Linked DNA regions of Homo sapiens: region 1 is linked to region 2. The links are contacts of gene promoters, found by promoter capture Hi-C in blood cells and fetal thymus (Javierre and others, 2016). All regions are on one chromosome and are shown on one strand. Each heading gives the region's core, a stretch centred on a gene start or on the middle of the fragment in contact. The rest is flanking DNA. Distances are from core to core; before and after follow the strand shown.

What was found. Contacts are between HindIII fragments. The CHiCAGO score rates a contact against its expected background, and 5 or more counts as called.
Region 1: a contact is called between a fragment that was not itself captured here and the fragment with the promoter of EML4 in region 2, in 1 of 17 cell types (M1 macrophages). The highest score is 5.2, in M1 macrophages.

The regions. Positions count from the first base shown.
Region 1 is chr2:40,475,679-40,482,315 of GRCh38, forward strand. It overlaps a transcript of SLC8A1 not described here. Among named protein-coding and RNA genes, the nearest start is that of SLC8A1, 27 kb to the left of the region's middle. The HindIII fragment of the contact is 5,876 bases long and covers 798-6,637 here.
Region 2 is chr2:42,163,965-42,171,025 of GRCh38, forward strand. It overlaps EML4 (EMAP like 4), which reads left to right and starts at 5,389. Exons shown (of 23, transcript NM_019063.5): 1 at 5,389-5,672. The coding sequence starts at 5,648. EML4-AS1 (EML4 antisense RNA 1) reads right to left here and starts at 6,267. Exons shown (of 4, transcript NR_110584.1): 1 at 6,006-6,267. RefSeq lists enhancers at 4,971-5,110, 5,123-5,775 and silencers at 5,191-5,240, 5,341-5,400. The HindIII fragment of the contact is 2,496 bases long and covers 4,934-7,061 here.

The sequences.
Region 1 (6,637 bases), core at 2,486-4,985, 1.7 Mb before region 2:
AATACATAAATACATATTTTTTACAAAAATAACTACATTTGCCAAAATAAAGCTCTTTAGTTGCTGAAGGATCTCAAAATCACACTTTTGAGAACTTCCATCTTAGAATGACTGGCTAGGAAAAAAAATGAAATAAACCCTAGGGCATTCTCTTAGATCATTACCTAAGCCCTAGATTCTCCTATTTTCAGTACTATTTTCCCCCAAAAAACATAACTTTCTATGATGCATCACATCATAGAAAAGGATTTTGGGAGAATTTGTCTCCTCTGAGTAGTTTTCTGTTCAAAAGATAATAACCTTAACAAATTCCCAAACTCATTTTTTTCTTTGAGAGGTATTGTTTTGGCACAAAGCATGAAAATAAATAAATGATGACAAATAGCATCATTTTTCAATTCGATTAAAGCATTTTGAGGTTAGTTGTGGAACTTCTTGATTTTTCTATGCAAGTGTAAAAGTCTATTACAGAACTGTGACTCTTTTCTATTCATATATTCCTCATATTATCTAATTTGCAACAACCAATTTTCACTTGTCTTTCTCAAAGGGGAGCCTATAGAAACTCTGGACCCAAGGACTAAAGCAATGCTGTTTCAGTTTCCCAGGGATGCCTCGGACCTTTATCCCTTCTTCATACCTGCTGGATATCAGGCATTCTTGATACCTGCTGGAGGCAATTCATTCATTTAGGGAGAGAGAAATAAAGTCTTAGCCTTCAGCTGGGAAAGACTGAAAATAAACAAAGATATATTTCTAATGTTAGATACTAATAAAGCATATAAAAAAGAAAAGCAAGCTTTGGGGAAATAGAATGACTGAGAGGATGTTTAGGTAAGGTGCTTAGTGAAGGCGTCATTGAGCAGATCACATTTGACCAGAGACCTTAATAAAGTAAGGGAGAGTCCATTATGGGACAAGATTAGTCTGGGCAGAGGTCATGGAAAATAGTAATTTCCTGAGGTCAGAAGAAACTTGACCTATTTGCTTTAGAGGAAATAGTGGGAGCAAGTGTGGTTAGTGCCAAATACATGGTAGAGATTTAGAAGTAAAGGAGGGTGGCATAGCTCAGGGATAGATCATATAGGGCCTTGAACACCATAGGAAGTCATTCCAATTTTATGAGAGTGCAAAAAGCCATTGGCAGAGTATCTAGGAGGAGTGATCATCCTTTCAGATTTTTCTGATACAATCAACTTTCAATAGTGAGTCTTGTTCTTTCCTTTATTTATGGCATCAAATTTAATGCCTACTGCATATTTTTGAAGCAGTGAGTGAATCAGTAAATCAATGAATAAGAGTTATTGGATTTTCTCTAATTTTTTTTGGGAGGATGTTCTGGAAAATACAGGAATTATTGTTTTGTGGGTGCATTTTTCCTATAGCAAACATAATACTGTCCACGACAATGTCATGCATTATTTGTCAAGTTAAATGTTTAAAAACATTTAATACTATTTTCTGAAAACAGAAACAGAAAGTCCATTAAATAATAAATTTCCTGGGCAACGTGATCTTTTTCAGTTTATTTTTAGTAGTCTGAACTACCATGGTATCTGATATCTGAAGAAAACACTGTTTCTCTTACAAGAGAGAAAACCTTGTGTTGTAGTCATGGATTGAGAGCTGAAGTGTTGCAGCTCCCTATTTCTAGAACCTTCTGAACACATGTGAGTAAATCAGTTCAATCCTATGTGCTTCTGGTTATTTGTCTGTAAAATGATCCACCTACTCCTTCTCCCAGCCCCCTCCCTATTTCTTTGTCCTACACGGTTGAAAAGAAGATAATTTATTGTCACTTAAACAATGTCTTAGATACGAACCCTCAACTTTTCAAGCACCACCCAAATGCCAAAGACTCTTGATGTTTTGCGGAAGGAAGACAATCAGAGGTTTGGCTTAGAAAGTTTTCCTTCCTCTGGCTGAAGATGAACTTCACAGCATTTTTCTCCACTTTGTACACGTAAGCCACATGAGTAATTTTCCTTTAAGTTGAACTACTGAATTTAAATAAAGATGAGTGTGTTTTTGTGTGAGTTATATGAGTGTGTGTGCCTGTGCGTAGTGTGTATGTGTGTGTGCACGTGTGTGTAGGGGGAGATTTGACCAACATGGGGAATGAATGCAAAGACATTGAATAACCAAGTTTCCAGCCACCTCTTAGTTAGCATAGCTTGATGTGGCTTACTTTCCAGAATAGTTGTGACTTGGTACTTTTTAGGAGCTATTTGGACTGAAGCTCAGGGAATAACCAGATGACCATAATGTATCAAGAACTTCTCAGAAAAAGGTACTGTATAAATAAATGGCACTTTTATTATTCTAGTCTGCCTCCTTTGGCTATAGGTTTTGACATCAAACTGTGAAAGTCAGTAATACAGTTTCTGAAGAGCTGTTTTACTTTCTTTTTTTCTTTTTCTTCCTGTTCTCTAATATCTCTATTCTGTTTTCTGAAAATACTCAGCTATGCCTTGGCTGGGGATGATAAAACCCTTGTTCACCCAGTTTTCCTGATTGATATCTCCACACAAGCTGATACACCCACCCGCCCTCACACACAATCAGAGTCCATTACCATTTTTCTGAAAAACCAAACAAGTTACTTGTTTAAGGCAGTTCTACCTGTCATGGTGAGACAACTGTTATTTGAGCCTTAATTAGCAGAGTATTGGGCTGAACCATGTGTCTTTTGTGTCCTGTTTGCAGGTTAAACTCAATATGACCTTTACAGATCTAAAGGTCCTAACAAATTGCAATATGCAATCATTTTTGTATCTACAAACCCAAATATTTAAAAAATAACTATTTAAAGCAACATGAGTTAGCTAGTCAAATGTGCTGTCCATTTAAAAGTCTATGATTTTCTTTGGTAAAAAGCTCAGGTAGTTTTTTCACTGAGTTTTTTTCAGTAAAATATTCTATAAATATGAGTGTATTTCTCTCTCCCTTCTGAAAAATCAATATCTGATGAGTTCCAAAATCTCTCATAGACCTAAGTTTTTAATTTGACTTTTATACTTTGATAGACTTTCTGAAGGAAATTTATATCAATTTCCCTGGATGTTACATTTCATTTTCAACCACCTAATTTGTTTGTTTTTTTTTTTTTTTAGACAGAGTTTCGCTCTTGTTGCCCAGGCTGGAGTGCAATGGCGCAGTCCCAGCTCACTGCAACCTCCGCCTCCTGGGTTCAAGCAATTCTCATGCCTCAGCCTCCCAAGTAGCTAGGATTATAGGCGCCCGCCACCACGCCCAGCTAATTTTTGTATTTTTAGTAGAGACGGGGTTTCACCATGTTGGCCAGGATAGTCTCAAACTCCTGATCGCAGGTGATCCGCCTGCCTCGACCTCCCAAAGTGCTGGGATTACAGGCGTGAGCCACCACGCCCGGCCTCAACCACCTAATTTTAAACTTCAGGAGAACGTATAAATTTCACCAATTCACACCATTAATTCAGAATGTACAAAGATTTAGACATGTGACTGTTGTCGAATAAACAGTTAACATATTTTTGACTGAATGTTGGAGCTTTTTGGTGGAAATTCAATTTTAAATTAGTATCTTTTTCAAATAAATATTTAAGAGCTGTCAAAATTTGTATCTTTTGTATGTAACTTCAACTTCTAAATTTAAAATTACTGTCTTTGTCTAATTATTTTATATTTTAGCATAGTCACAGTTAATTAATTGTTCTACTAGAGCTTGAACCCACATTCTTCATTTGCAGTTCATTTTCTGATCATGCATTTTCTCTGGTTTGGGCAAAAAATAAACATTTTTTTAAGCTCATAACAATTTATATCTTGGTCATCTGGTTGGATATTACTTTCTCTCTCAAGATATTCTCATTTGGACATAATAGTAGTAGGTATTTATATATTCTATAGATGAGGAAACACAGAAGTTTCTTATCTTGATTAGAAAGAGAAAATATTTCAGGGGTGGTAAGTGAGCTTTTCATGCTCCTATCTGTTAAAATACCGGTTTTATCTCTAACTGGGGAAGGTAAGTACCAAAGTATTGACAATGAGTGTTTCCATCTCAGCTTCGGCAACAAGGTACTTTGGCATCTTAACATTCCTGGATTTGTGAAAAACAATTAAAAAACCATTAATATTGGGAGAAAAATATAAGCCCAGTTAGTATCCCTTGCATTGTTTGTCCCTTCATAGTGATCCACTTACTAGCTGTGCAGTTGCCTACCCTCAGCTCCCATTCCATGGGCCAGTAATTAATGTACCAGGGTAATTTCTTCCTGACGCCACAGTCTGTTGATATAGTTATGAAAACTAACTGAGGACCTATGATAAGGTTTCCACAGTGACTTGATTTTACTGCAGGATGGGACTAACACAGGTCAAGAAAAAACTGTAAAACTGGAAACAGTGCACGTTTATTGTTTTTTTTTAAAAATTAGATACTGATTTTTTCTGGTGCCAGTAGAGAGGCCAGAAACATTTAATCTTCAGAACTAAACCCCAAAACCTCATGAAACATTGAAAGAGGAAGGCAAAAGTTGCTCTCTTCCCCAAATGTGAACTACTTATTGCATCAAAGATTAAGCTGTCTACTATGGTCTGAATATTTGTTCCCTCTAAAATTCATATGTTGAAATCTTAACCCCCATGGTGATGTATGAGGAGGTGTGACTTTGGGAGATCATGAGGGCTCTGTCTTCATTAAAGGGATTAGTGTCCTTATGAAAAAAAGTCCCAGAGAGACTCTCACCCCTTGCATCATGTGTGGACACAGAAAGAAGGCACCCTCTACAAACCAGAAAGCAGGTTCTCATCAGATACGGAGTTTGCTGGCATTTTGATATTGGATTTCCAGCCTTTAGAACTGTGAGGAATAAGTTTTGATTGTTGATAAGGCAGCCAGTTTATGGGATTTTTGTTATAACATCTTAAATGGACTAAGACACTGCCCTAACTTTGCTTAGATTAAGGAGGTTGAGTGTATCAGCTGAATCCTGACCAAAATTTCTTGTTGGAGTGGAAAGGACTCAAGGACATAATTTAACAAGTTGTGCTGGGCATGTCAAGTGCTCTAGAAATTTCATGAGTCTCCTCCCAGTCCACATATTGTCGAGAATGAATGAGCTCACTAATCTGCTACAAGATGAAGACCACGACGTTATACAGGCTAATTCTGAGTCACTGCATCAGTTGAGACCAGCAGCCACTGACTTACAAACACAACCCAACTTATTTTTTGAAGAGATTCGTAGTAGCCAAAAATCGCACTGCTGTTTAAACACAAATACTTAAGAATATAAAAGATCATAACCACAACCTTTTAATTATAATGATATCCTTTAATGTGGGAGAAGAAGAGAGGAGTATATTATTTGACCTTAGATGTAACTGTATGGAAAAACAGGGCATCAGTCGCAAAGTCATTTTACAAAAGAAAGCATATTTTCTTGTGTGTGTTTATGTGTAAGAGTGTGTGTGTGTATGTTTGTGCATCCATGTGCACACTTGCTCATACACCATAGTATTTTAAAGAACATAGTTTACCATAGGGAGGAATGGATATAAAAAAGGTGATTAATTAGTTCTGTGGCATATCTTACTATAGCTTTCTAAGGTTCACGCTTTTTATATCACCTCACACACAAATTAATGCCATATTTATTTGAAAGCAGCACAGTGTTAAAGAAGACAAAAGAGACATTGAATTCAGCCATACCTGGCTTTAAATTCCTGTCACATGTTAGCTGTGTGATTTTATGCAAAATTATTTAGTCTGCTTGATCTTTAGTTTTCTTGTTTATAAAAATAAGAGTGTCACTTTTCTTACAGAACTGTTGTAAGAATGCAACCAGATTTTTTAGCTTCTAGTAGGATGTCTGATAACTGTTAGATCCTTCTTCTTTCTCTGTAAGAACCATAGTTCGATCTGGCTAATACAGTCTTATACTGAATAGAATTATCATAATCTCTACCACTAGGCTTGTGAGTAGGGGGAGAAAGTGGAATCATAATTTTTTATTCCTGAAAATACACCAACGGAAAAGTAATGATTTCTAAGTCTTAACTCTTTCAGACAAGCTGTTTTTACATGCTGAAAAGTGAGATGCCAGTTCTTCATGTCTCCATCGTTTCTGTCTCTTTAACAGTTCAGAACATTCCTTTCCCTGGACAAATTCTGCAAAATGAAGTTAGGTTTCCAATTCTTCTATACCCTTTTAGTTGGTAATTTTTGAGTCAGGATTATATAGATCAAAATTTGAATTTCAGAGATGGAAGAGATATTAGAGAATAGTTCAAGTTTTAAGGCACATTACAATCATTTGAGAGGCTTGATAAAAACAGAGATTTGTAGAACCTGTCCCAAAAGATTCTCTTTCTGGAGGTAAAGGTCCCAAGCTCCTGCATTTTTTTAAAATACATATTTTATTGTGGTAAGAATGCTTAATATGAAATTGATCCTCTTAACAAACTTTTAAGCGTGCAATAAGATATTGTTGACTATAGCTACACCAAGTTTCTACATTTTAAAAACGAATGTCCCAGATGTCTTTGGTTTAGTTGGGCCACTCTCTCCAGAGGGAGCACTACTGCCTTAAAGTCTTTCTAATTAACTTTTCACACATTGCAGGGTCATTTATAGCCTCTGACTCAGTGCAGA
Region 2 (7,061 bases), core at 4,139-6,638:
CATGGTCTCTGACTGCTAGTTTTTGTATCACTGCCCCCCAACTCATCCCTGCCATTAAAAGACCTGGGTTGAGGCATTCACTTGGCCTAGGTCATGTGCCTGGGCCCCAGCTGTCAAAGATGACCTCTGATTCCCTTCAGCTTCCCACAAAGGTTAATTCATCACTGTATTTTCTTTTCTCCAGTCACATCATTTCTTTAAGTTCCCATTTTAATATAATGCTGCCATTATTCTCTCCATCACTGGGAGCTGAACCTGGATAACCTGTTTTACTCCCTCCTCTTCCTTAGCTTCTGAGGCAATCAGTCCACCCAGCTCTGCGAGGGTTTTGTTTGTTGTTAATTCATGTTTTCCTTCACAAGATTTTTTTTTTCTTGGCGCTTTCTGCAGCTACTGCTTCACTGCAAGTCTCCTAATTGGATTCCCCACTTCCAGTGCCTCTTCCAATGTGTCCACCCGGTTTAATCTTCCTAAAGCAATGCTTTGATCATATCACTTTGCTGCTAAAACTGCATTGTTGATAGGCGTCTCAGTCTGGTGTTCAAGGATCTCCACAACAGAATCCCATTGAGCCCAAAAGGCAAACTGGTGCAGCGAAGAGTTTGATTTTCAGATGTAGATGGATATGGGTTCAAAACTTGATTTTCCCATTTTATAGTTTTATACTCTTGAGGCTCATTTTCCCTGTCTGAAAAATGGGGATAATGAAACCTACCACTTAAGGACCTTCATAAGTCAGAACTTTGAAAGTTGAAACGGTATTATATGTTGTATTTAGGTTGCAACATCAACCCACAGATGCTTATAATAGGCAATATTCAATTTCAGACCTGTCTGGTTCAAAACCTTAAGTAAGGCTGTCATCAGTGTGGTTTAACGCAGGCAGGTTAGGATCAGCATGCTACATGTTTTTGGGGCTAAGTGGCAATCTAACCACCAATTATGGCATTATTACTAATTTCAAACTGCTGACTTACAAATGACCTTTTGGAAATATTTTATTTGCAAGTAGAGAACTTCCTGTGTTATTAATTTTGAGAATTGAATTTCCTTGATTGGCTGCTTTCCACTCTAATATTTCTATTTAAAAGTATTTCCCTGCAGAATATCAATTTTGTAAGGGATTGTTATGAACTCTTCATGGAGAAAAATTTTACATTTATGATGGACACATGAAAATTATTAGCTATTATCTCTAAGGCTTGCGCAACATCCAGTAAATGTAGTAAAGCTATAACACATAAAAAGAAACTTTAAAGTTTGTTCCACAATCTCAACAAGTTCAAATCTCATTTCATGGCATAAATTCTGAATTAGCATTGGGAAAACTTAGCTCTGCAGGCAAGGCTAGTTGTCTTCTTTCTGTAGGTCATGGATGGCACCATGAGAAATGCCAAAATTAACCTCAATAGGCATTCGTTCACTCACTCATGCATCTATGCAGCAGGTCCTCCAAGTGAGGTATGGCTTGTGATCCCCACAGGATAGATTTCAGTCTCATAAGTTCTCACCAAGAATTTACAGCACTACTAATTGCTTGATTCTTTCCTGAAGTCAGCAAGTCTGGAAAGTCTTACGAGAGAGATAACCATCATGCCAAGATTGGTAAAACAGTTATTAAATAAGTATGATATTTTAAACCAGTCTCTACAGACACAGTTTATGAGTGTCTAAATATGCAGTGAAATATATTTTTTGTTTTTGCATTTTAATGTTTTCAAAAAATGAATACTTCTATGATTAAAATAAAATAAAAGTGAAATCCCCCATATCTCTCCTCTACCCTTTCCTTCTTCCACTTAATTTCATTTCTCAGAGGCAGCTACTTTTGACACTTTGGGGTATCTCCTCTCAAACTCCTTTTATTTCTCTTGCAATAATTTTGAAGTTCTCCCTAGGCATTCTTTATGGTTAGAAGCTAGAATAACATTGCCATTTAGCTTCTTATAGATTTTGGAATTCTTTTACACACTGCTTACATTAAACATATTATAAAAATGAAGAATCCCTTTTTTCCCCCACTCAGGTATTAACTCTGATTTTTTTCTATCAAATTTGTGCTTACATGGACTACAGGTTTATACAATCTATATAGTTCCATGACTATAGGGTTTCATTTTTTAAATAACATTCAAATAATGAAATAAAAGGAACTGAAGACACAGCATACTTAAAAAAAACCCTTAATTTTCCTTGGCATTTATTTTAAAATGTCTGCGGGAGAGAAAAGCAAGCAGACAAAAACAGTTTATAGTTACTTTTCAAGATCATCTAGCTAGTGAGAGTAAAACAAAGAAATTGAATAGGAATCTTATTTTTCTTCAAACGTTAGGTCAAGACTTTGACAATGTATCTTCACAAGTATTCTGAAACTCCTCCCACAACATACTAACCTTGACATAGAGGGGAAGGTAAGTATGCAGAGTCAAGATTCGATGTATAAAGAGAATGTTCTGGCCAGGCATGGTGGCTGAAGCCTGTAATCCCAGCACTTCAGGAGGCCAAGGCTAGGCGAATCACTTGAGGTGAGGAGTTCGAGACCAGCCTGGGCAACATGGCCAAACCCTGTCTCTACTAAAAATACAAAAATTAGCTGGGCATGGTGGTGCACAACTGTAATCCCAGCTACTTGGGAGGCTGAGGCATGCTAATTGCTTGAACCCGGGGAAGCGGAGGTTGCCGTGAGCTGAGATCGTGCCACTGCACTCCAGCCTGGGCAACAGAGTGAGACCCTGTTTCAAAAACCAAAACCATAAAGGGAATGTTCTAAGTTTTCATTATTTGATACAGCTATATTTAGCCTTTTCCAATAACTGGGATCCTGAAAAACGGCACATATTTTGCATTTGCCTGAATTAAGTTATACTTAAGGAGCTCAAAGGGGCAATGGAACTCCACATTGAAAATAATCTAAAGATAAATCCTTTGTTAAGGTGAATAACCAAAATAACCCTCCAGTAATTCGTAACTGTTTAGAACCTTAGTATTTGTGTGTGTGTTTGATAATGTTCAGCTATGGTTTCACTTTTGAAAGATGTATGTTAAATTTTATTTTATCATAGTAGTATTAGAGGCTTAGATTGCAAGATGTACTTTGATAAATATAAAACAAAAATTCTGGCTGCTTTAAAACACTCAGGCACTGGTTGTTGAAACAATGTATTCAGATTGACTAGTTTTCAGAATTCTTCTATGTTTGTTCATTATTCAATAAATATTTATCAAAAAGCTGTTCTGTAATATGCACTAAGTATATAATAGAGAGCAAAAACAGGTACAAAATAAGAGCAGCTAATACCTACTGAGCACTTATAACATATTGTGCCCTGTTTTAAGTGCTTTACATATATTACCTCATAGCATCCTCTCAAAAACTCTAAGAAGTAGAAGTGTTATCATCTCCATTTTGCAGTCAATAAAATGGAGGCACAGAGAGGTTAGGTAATTTGTCCAGTGTTTCATAGCTAGTACATGATGAGTTGGGATGTGAATCTGGGCAGCATGATTCCAGAGTCTGCACTCTTAACTGCTGGGATGTACTAACTCTCCTACATTTTAACAGCTTTCCTTGTAGTATACAGTATAATGAATGAGATGCTTATTGAATAAATCATTCAAGCAAATGAAAAATTTTAACTCTGATGAATGCCACGAAGGGGAGTGTGGCAGAAACCAGAGAGCTGTTACCAAAATATGTCTCTTTTCCTTCTGGATACACAGACTACATTCCTAGCCTCCCTTGCAGTCATGTGACCAAGTTCTGGCCAGTGGAATGTGGACAAAAGGGAGGTACACACTTCCAGGTCTGGACCATAAAACATATGTATACCAATATGCCAAGTTCTTATTCTTTTAATCGACCTAAGGCAGAGAGTGTGGCCTGAAGACACAAAGGAACAGCTGTCAGAATTGAGAACTTCTCAAACATTTACTTAGGCTTAATAGAAACTTATGCATATGAAAATGCCCATAGCAGAAGGAACATTGGGTAAATCATTTAAGTTTGAAGAGAAGGAAATTTTAGACACCGTTTAGTCTGTAACCTGAATTTATCTTGGCTGCGTTATGGCCAGTCTCCATATAGTATGGTATTCAGAAACAGGTCTTATATCCAAATAAGAAATGCAAAGTAATTTACATTTTTAGGGAAGATTTTTAAAGAGGCAACAAAGGGAGACGTATACCCCAAGAAGGTTTAACAATCCTTTCAATCATTTAATTCCTCTAAGTCTCTCTCATCATTACATATTTCTTGTCTCCCTTCTTGTTTGTCCCTCTCTCCTGCAACTCTGTGTAGTAGGACTCTGTTTTCCCCTAACTCAGCTTTTTATTATGTATTTATCAATTTATTATGTATAGATCAATTCAGTTCTTCAGTACCTTACAGCTCTTCTCTCTCTTACTCTAATCTGCACAACTGAGCCCCAGGAGGGACTTGACAAACCATGAGAAAGTCTTTAGAAGTATGGGAAATCGTGTTGGGGAAGGGAGGAAGAATATGAACGCTATGTATATTTACATGTTTTGGTTACATGTCCAGACAACCAATTTGCAAATGAATAAAGTGACGCCTAAATAAATTAGGTGATTTGACACTCTTGAGTCATACGGAGTTGGGCCTAGAACTCAGTGTTACTTCATTTGAAATAACCCTTATTATGGTTCCCTAGCAGGCCATCCTATAGCCTGCCATATATGGTCGTTTTGCACCCCTAGACGACAGAACGCTAGGGAGAGTAAGGAAGGCTGAGTTTTTGCTTCTACTAGGTTCGATGACCTTGGGCAGGTTGTCCTCTCTAAGGCTCTGTGTTTTTCTTCATAAGAAGGGTTAGACAAGATGAACTTTTGGGTCATGTCCAGCACTAAAATTCCTTGCTTCTGATCTGTCCCGGGCCCTGCGGCTGTGGCAGTGGTGGTATCGAGCTAGTCAAGAAGCTTCGCCCCTATTTGTCCCCCACCCTATTGGGGGAGAGGGAGAACCTCTCCCTCTTGGTTGCTTCTTTAGTGTCCTTGTAGGACCCACGTGGTGGTCATCTCCCGTCACGGGGGTCCAGTCTTGGCTCTGCGGGCTTCCCAGGGGCCACATAGGGAGAGGATCCTTCATGCATCAGAGTATCGCAGGCCAGAGTCTATGCCTTATCCCCACCTGTTTGGAACCAGCTTCCAAACCGTGGTCCCCAGCCTTCAGCAGGCCTACCGCGCAGGCGCAACCACCAGCCTGGCGCGAGGCGGACAAACGCCGAGGCCGAGGCAAGGTGAGAGGGCGGGGCTGGCAAGACCCCGCCTCCGTGGCGTCACGTGGGAGGCGGAGTCGGAAGTGTGACGGCGTGCGCGGGGCGGGGCTACTGCTGCGCGCGGGCGCGGGGGCGGGGCGGGGCGCGGCGCGGCGCGGCGCTCGCGGCTGCTGCCTGGGAGGGAGGCCGGGCAGGCGGCTGAGCGGCGCGGCTCTCAACGTGACGGGGAAGTGGTTCGGGCGGCCGCGGCTTACTACCCCAGGGCGAACGGACGGACGACGGAGGCGGGAGCCGGTAGCCGAGCCGGGCGACCTAGAGAACGAGCGGGTCAGGCTCAGCGTCGGCCACTCTGTCGGTCCGCTGAATGAAGTGCCCGCCCCTCTAAGCCCGGAGCCCGGCGCTTTCCCCGCAAGATGGACGGTTTCGCCGGCAGTCTCGGTGAGTACGGCTGGGGAGTCCTGCGTCTTCTGCGAAGGGTAGGAACTTTTTTCCTTCCGCACACAGCCCAGGCCCTGCCCTCCCGCCTGCCCCTCGGGGTGGCAGCGGCTCCACTGCACATGTTCCCTTCGAGGCTGCCGCCCCTCCGCGGACTCCGGTGGACTGAGGGCCCCTCCCCCATGTCCAACTCTCCTCTGTGTCAGACCCTCCTTTCCTCCCGGAGCCCCTTTCAGTGCGGGGCCCTCGTTCCCCCAAAGTGGGAACCCCTTCCTTCTCAGGCCCCCCGATAGCTGGCACACCCCTCCCCGTACACTCACGGCTCCCTCCACTTACCCCCCTTCAGAGTTGGGACATTTCTTCAAATCCAGGCTCCTCTTCAGGGTACAACCTTCCACCACCTTTCCACATACACGCCTCTCTTTCAGGGTGGGGATCGCCTTCACCCGAACAGAGGCTCCTTTTTAGGGGAGGGACCCTCATTCCCTCTTCAGGAAGGGGGCATCCCCCGCCCCCAAGTCTTCACTTTAGATTTGAAGGCGACTTTCCAGTATCCTTCAGAGTAGTAGGCAACTTCCTTTTCAATCCCTCCACTTCTCTGAGCATTTTGCAGTGGTGGAGAGACCTAGAAGCATCGGAGCATCATTTGCTTAATGCAGGAAAGGAAGAGGTGCATCTGTGTTGGGGGACCCTCTTTAAGAGTGAAAGCAGAAGTGTTTTCTGGTTCTGCATACATGCTGGGGAGAAGTGATTCTGCCCAATGAATCAATAGGAAAGGGGGCCTCTATCAGGGAAGGAAAGGATTCTCCATTTTTGGAAGATGTTGTCTTTGTGGAATGGAGAAAGGGAAGAGGTTATTAAATAGGCTGAAGTGCCTTTTCAGTGTTCCTTTCACCAGATGAAGGTAATCTTCTGGCTAGGAAAATCAAAACTCCAGGCTAGTATTCGCTGCCCTAGAAGCTGAATCTGGAATTACTATTCTTCGAGGCCATTGAAATCTAGTAAAAGATTAAGTTCAACTGTTAGAATGGTGAGAGAAACAGTTTCAGCTTTGGCTGATAACGCAGTTGTGTGATACCTACTGCTGGAACTGTATTTTGAGTTTTTTATGTGCAGGTAGCTTGTATTCAGACGCCTTTCTTTTACATTTCTTGATAATAAGTCTCTACTTGGTTAATGTTCACTGATCAGTGAGCAGTCTGGCCATAGGCCGTACTATATCCAGATAATATCGAGATGAGATGGATTTTTAAAATCTAAAGTAAAAAAGTAAGTCAAAGAGCAATGGGCCTATTATAGATATTAAATAGTAAAACCTATAATTTTGGCCTTCCCTTTTTCTTGGGCAGAAAAAATTGTCGTTATATTGCTTTCAGAGTGGAAATCCTAAAA